2 separate regions of the Homo sapiens genome follow, and region 1 is linked to region 2. Evidence: promoter capture Hi-C in human tissues and cell types (Jung and others, 2019). All regions are on one chromosome and are shown on one strand. The core of a region is centred on a gene start or on the middle of the fragment in contact, and the rest is flanking DNA. Distances in the headings are between cores, read along the strand shown. Region 1 overlaps DENND1A (DENN domain containing 1A). Region 2 holds the start of DENND1A (DENN domain containing 1A).

Evidence for each region. The method cuts DNA at HindIII sites, captures the fragments that hold promoters and counts their contacts. A contact is called where the count stands out against the background at its distance.
Region 1: a contact is called between a fragment that was not itself captured here and the fragment with the promoter of DENND1A in region 2, in 7 of the 25 tissues and cell types used here (adrenal gland, aorta, dorsolateral prefrontal cortex and 4 more).

What each region holds. Positions count from the first base shown.
Region 1 is chr9:123,652,029-123,654,945 of GRCh38, reverse strand. DENND1A (DENN domain containing 1A) reads left to right here. Exons shown (of 24, transcript NM_001352964.2): 9 at 2,823-2,917. Among named protein-coding and RNA genes, the nearest start is that of MIR7150, 170 kb to the right of the region's middle. RefSeq lists an enhancer at 1-78. The HindIII fragment of the contact is 3,988 bases long and covers 1-2,917 here.
Region 2 is chr9:123,928,872-123,931,686 of GRCh38, reverse strand. It overlaps DENND1A (DENN domain containing 1A), which reads left to right and starts at 1,561. Exons shown (of 24, transcript NM_001352964.2): 1 at 1,561-1,798. The coding sequence starts at 1,782. RefSeq lists a silencer at 1,335-1,824 and enhancers at 2,175-2,374, 2,004-2,689, 2,625-2,704. The HindIII fragment of the contact is 15,721 bases long and covers 1-2,815 here.

The sequences.
Region 1 (2,917 bases), core at 255-2,754, 280 kb after region 2:
TCTGAACTGAGGCTTGATGGGAACTGCGAGTGCTCCCTGCAGCTGCTCCTGGGGCCCCGCTCTGCCCCACAGGTGCTCCCACGGCTGAGCGAGGTTCCCAGGGCTGTTGGCACTCCCACCCACTCCCACCCGCTCAGGCGGGTGGCATCCCAGAAGGAAAGAGGCAGGGGAGGAAGCAGATAAGAAAGACAGCTTCTGTTTAGACACAAATATCTTGGTAATCAGCACAGATGGGATGAGAAATACCAAAAAAAGTACATGACAGTTTAGAGAGAATTTGGCTAAATGTTACGTATTTTTAACATACCTGTGTAGAGTTTTTGGAACAAGCACCTGAGTCCCTCAGAATCTGATTGGAGATGGGGGACATGCCTCAATCAAATGGTGTTTTTATTTCAGAAATGTTTCCTTCCCATCCACAAAAGTATCCTTGTGATTTTTTTTTCTCCCACCAAAATAAGGCGCAGGATTTGTCTCTGACGCTGTGTCTCCCTATTTGGACGGCAAGCTGTGTAACATATTTCTCCCCAGCGTGAAGCTTCTTGGCAGACTCTTGAGGCCACGTTTTGGTGGCTTCAGAGTTATCTTTGGATCTGTCAAAAGTGCTAATGGGCTTTCTGGCCTTCTTTAAGCTCCTCATTTCTATTTTCTTTTTACTTCCATCCTCTCCTAAAAGAAAAATTCATGTAATTCATCAGCAGTTAAGCTTTTTACTGAAATGCTCAGTGAAGGGCCTCATATTTTTGTTTGTGAGGAGAGCTGTGCCATGTCACCGTCTTCAGAGCAAACCCCACCCTTACATCATTAGCTCTGTGTTCCTCCGTCCAGTGGAGGAACCAAGATACACTGGTTGACTCCTTCCGACTGCCTTTGGTGTTTGCTGTTTTGTTTTTCACTGAGTTTGTTAAGAGGCAAGTTGGTGTGGTGGTTAGGGTATGAGTTTTGGATTGAGGAGATCTAGTTTTGAAACATGGCTCTCCCCTTTCTAGCTGGGTGACCTTTAGAAGTCTACTGAGACTTCCTGAGCCTCCAGTTTTTTTTTTTTTATTTCTCATCTATATAATGGAGATGATAATGCCTGTCTCAAGCTTGTTGGGAAGATTGGAAAGAACACAGGAAAAGCACCTGTTGCCTGCCACATACAGATCACTCCGTGAATGGGGTAACGGTAATTTTTAACAGAAGCATTTTCCTTTCTTTAGGCATACTTGATCTTGTTGCGTTTCTTTTTCCAAATATGAGTTTTACCTACAATTTTGTGTGGAATAAAAAGAGCATGGATTTAGAGACAGACCCACTCAGGACTGAATCATGTCACATCCACTTACTGCGTGACCTTTGTCAAATTACACAACTTCTCTGTGCCACTGTTTTCTCATCTTCGTAGAGGGATAATAATACTTAGTTCAAGGAACAGTTTGAAGATTAAGTGACATGTTTAATAATAGATGTGAATCTTTCAAACAATAGATGTGCATAAGAGGGACAGTGTTGTGTACGGGAAAGCGTATAGGCCATGGAGTCAGATCTGACTTTGCCAGTTGCTGACCTCTCCCAGACTTTATATTGGAAAGAATAACGCCTCACTGGATTTTTGTGAAGACTGCACAATTACACATCCACAGTGTCTGGTACAGTGGCTGGCACTTGATAGGTAGTTAGTATATAGAGCTGTTAATTCACTTGCTCTGTATTTATAAAGGTTGATGGTTAACTTGGTACTTCAGTCAAACAATAATAAATTATAAGATAAGTGCCCATTTTTACTCCCAGCCCATAATATTGTTGAAAAGCACTTTGTGCTATTTTGCATGTAAAATCCACCTGGTTTACTTCAATTTATGGGTTATAGATCTTTAATCATTATAAACTGCAACGCCTGGCAATAGCATTCCTTCCCTCCCAAACCCCTTTCATTTTCAGAGGATTATATTGTATGGCATTGAAAACCTGTAACATTGAAGAAATTAGCATATTCATGTGTATTATTAAAGTCAGGTGGGTATAGAAAGCGTTGTATAAATGAAACACATTCCATTTTTTTTCTGAAATCTGAAGAGTACCAATCTATAGTACTAATTAAAAGACTGAAGCCCAGGCTACAGGGGTGGAAAAAAGCTAGTTAAAACACTGCTTTGTCACAACTTGCTGCTGTTTGTCTTCAATTTTTTTTCCCCTTTTGAGTGAAATACCTGGAAATTGTAAATGTTCGAAATTGCCTTAATTCCAGCTGAGCCGTTTTAGCAAATGTAAACTGTGAAGGAGGGGATACCAGCAGTGATGACGGGAGAGGAGCTCGCCTGGCCTTCGTGGGTGGCATCTCCTGCACAGAAACAGGCTCAGTGCCAGAAGCATTTTGGTCCCTGGGTACTTTCTTTTGCTTAGGCGTATGGCACAGCACATCGGGAAGGTTCTAGGATCTGGGGCCCAAAGATTTGAGCAGCAGTCCTGTCTTCATTGCTTATTAGACTGTTCCATCTTGGAGAATCTCTTTGAGTCTTGGTTTCCTCATTTGTAAGATATGTAGAATTCCTGTTCTGCTCACCTTTAGGAACTGACCTAAGTGCTGGATGCGACCTCATGTTGTAATCACCACACAAAGATGTAATTGCTCAGGCTCCTTCCTCTGTAAGGTGTCTTCCAACTTTACCCTTCATGATTTTACACATGTGGGGATTTGGCCTCCCAGGTAGAAAGAAAAGGACAGGGAAAGAACAGAGTATACTTTCTGATTATTTTATGTTTCTTATGCTCTTATTAGATACAGTTATAATAAGAACAAAGAAAATCAGCCACAAACCGTGCCTTCTTCTTTCTCCTAGAGAAATCTGACAGAATATTTTGTGGCTGTGGATGTTAACAACATGTTGCATCTGTACGCCAGTATGCTGTACGAACGCCGGATACTCATCATTTG
Region 2 (2,815 bases), core at 312-2,811:
ATAGCAACTGTTCCTTGGAGAAGTTTCATAGGTGAATAAACACCACAGAGCTCCTGCCTGTCTAGCAGAGCTTTGCTCCTGGGGGTGTTTACAAGTCGGTATTGGTGTCTGGGTGCATAAGACTTTAAATTCAAAATGACAGTTTGGACATTTTCACTTTTTTTTTGGTTTTCATTTTAAAAAGTTTACCCTTTGACTTCAACAACCTAAAGGCAGAGGCAAAAGGGAGAAACTATCTTTATTCAGAAGGTGACTCCAACAGAAGAAGTCTTCTACGACTTATCTTCTGGCTTTCTTTCCTCCCATCCTGGCCGGGAGCTAGGACGCAGGACCAGTTACGTAGAGGCTATGGGGTGGGGGTAGGGTGGGGAGGCACTCCATGCATTTATAAGAACTAAAATGGCAGAAGTGATGAATGGCATTTCGGGACAGAAAATTGGAAAAAAAAAAAAAAAAAGGAAAAAAAGCCTAATATTAAAAATGTCTTTGGACTTGTGGCCAAAGGTGCCACCTTAAAGCATGACTATGTCACAGGTGTCTGGAATGATTCAGTCTGGACACTAATCTTGGCTTCTTCACTCGTTGCTAGTTATGTGACCTTGGGAATGTGGCTCAGTTTCCTCTTTGTAAATTAGGGAGATGAACACAGGATTATTGTGAGGATTGGCACTAATGATGTACGGAAATACTGTGTCTGATGCAGAAAGGGCACTCACCCGCTCATTAAAGGGTGGCTAATGGTAGCTGTGATTATTGCTTCCTTTATGATCCCTCTGGCCCTAGAGGGGATGAAATTGAGGTGTTCATGGAAGTGAATCCCAAGGGGGAGCAGGGGTAGGTAGCAGGCTGGTGATCTCGGCTCTCAAATCCTTTCATTTGCATTGAGTTAATCTCTATCAGGGACTGTTGTGTTAACAGGAGGCTTCGATGTTGGAGTTCCCAAAACGGCTGATAAAGGGAGGCAGAGGTCCTCAGCGGGAGGGCAGAGCTGAGCCACCACGTGGGTCCACGAAGCCCCCAGGTGGCTTTCCTGTAGGTATGTGGGGTCTCCTTCAAGCTCTAAGGGGAAAGGAAGAGGAAAGGCCTTCAGATGGGGAAGTGGACGGTGTGATGGAGAAGAGGTTCTGCACGGAACTTACTGGAAGGTGCGGGATGTTAAAGGGAAAACGTGTTTTCATGGAGGCCTGGGCGGGGGATTAGCTCTCCGTTAGAGAGGCTGGGTGGGAGGCCTCCAATGGGAGGATTGGTGGCGGTTTCATCGGGAGGGCTTGGGGTCTCCATGAGAGGATTAGGGTCTCTTCAGGGCGGCTGTGAGTGGAGGTTTCCAGCGGGGCGCAGTGGGGTGCAGATGTGTAAGGGCCTGCAACGGAACGCCAGAGTCCTCCGGGGCCCGCGCCCTGGGAGACGTGCGGGTGACCGCGCTCCCGCCCCGCCCCCACCGGCCACGGCCCCGCCCCCGCGAGCGGACTACACTTCCCAGCAGCCCCAGCGGGCAGCGGCGGCGGCAGCGCGGGCGGGAGGGGCGGTGGTGAGAGGCGGAGGGGGCGGCGCGCGCCGGGCACGCGCGCCGGCGACCATGGCGTTCGCCGGGCTGGAGCGAGTACATTAACCCCTGGAGGCGGCGGCGGCGGCGAGGGAGCGAGCCTCGAGCGGGCGGGCCCCAGCCTGAGGGAAGGGAGGAAGGGGCGGGGAGAGCGCCAGAGGGAGGCCGGTCGGCCGCGGGCGGGCGGGCAGCGCAGCGCCGAGCGGGGCCCGCGGGCCCATGAGGAGGCCTGGGGACCATGGGCTCCAGGATCAAGTGAGTGCGGCCGGGCCGGGCGGAGCCGGGCCGGGCGCGGGGCGGCGAGGCCGGGCCAGGGCTGCAGGCCGCGGGCCGCGCGGGGGACTTGTTGCCGAGACCAGAGGGGCGCCCCGCGTGACGCCGGCACGCGGGGAGGGGGACGGTTGCTATGGCGATCCAGGGAGGCGCGGGGGCGGGGTGCGCGCGGGGTGGCAGGGCGCCGGGGGTCAGGTGTCCCCTCCTCACCTGGGGGTCGGAACAGCTGAGATTACAGGGCGGCCCCCTCCCCGGGTTTACGGAGAGCCCCTGAAAATGGTCCTTCAACTGTGGGGAAGGGGAGTGGGAAAGCCCCGGAAGCACCTCCCCATGTTTGGGCATGTTTGGGGCGCCCCTGAAAGTTGGCAGGTCCGGAGAGGTTGCAGCCTGGCCGCTTGAGGCCTGCGGCCCCCACAGAAGTCGCGTGAGGTTCTTAGAGGGAGGGGCCGCTCATGGTGTGGCCACCTAAGGTGTGGATGGCCGGGGAGGAAGGCCTGTCTCTCTATTTCCCCCCTCTTATCTGTGAAAATCTCCACGCAGCAAGGTCCAAAGGCTGTGAAGGAGGATACCTCTGTGTTGTAACCGAGCACCTGCTCTTGATAATCGTTGGAAAGGCTTTGTAACTCAATCTGGCGAATTCCCTCACTCATTCATTCACCTGGAGTTCCCGGTGGAGGGTTAGCTTTCCGGGGAAATTGTTGATACATGTAACTTCAGAATCCACTGAAACATTGTTGCTGTCCTTGTAGACTTAGAAGTTGACTTTGGAAAGTGCAACTCTTAAGCGGTCCAATTTGGGTGTGTGGCTTTCGACTCTATCTCCCCTCCCAGCCAGGTCCTCTTGTGGCCTCTCCCTTCCTCTGCCCCAGAACTGGAGATGTTTTATCTCTAATTACTAACAAATGTTCACTTTTTCCTCTGTGACTAATAGAATTGTTTAAGGGCATTAAAAAGCAAAGTTGACAGCATAGGCTTTTCTGTAAAACAACTTTCCTAGGA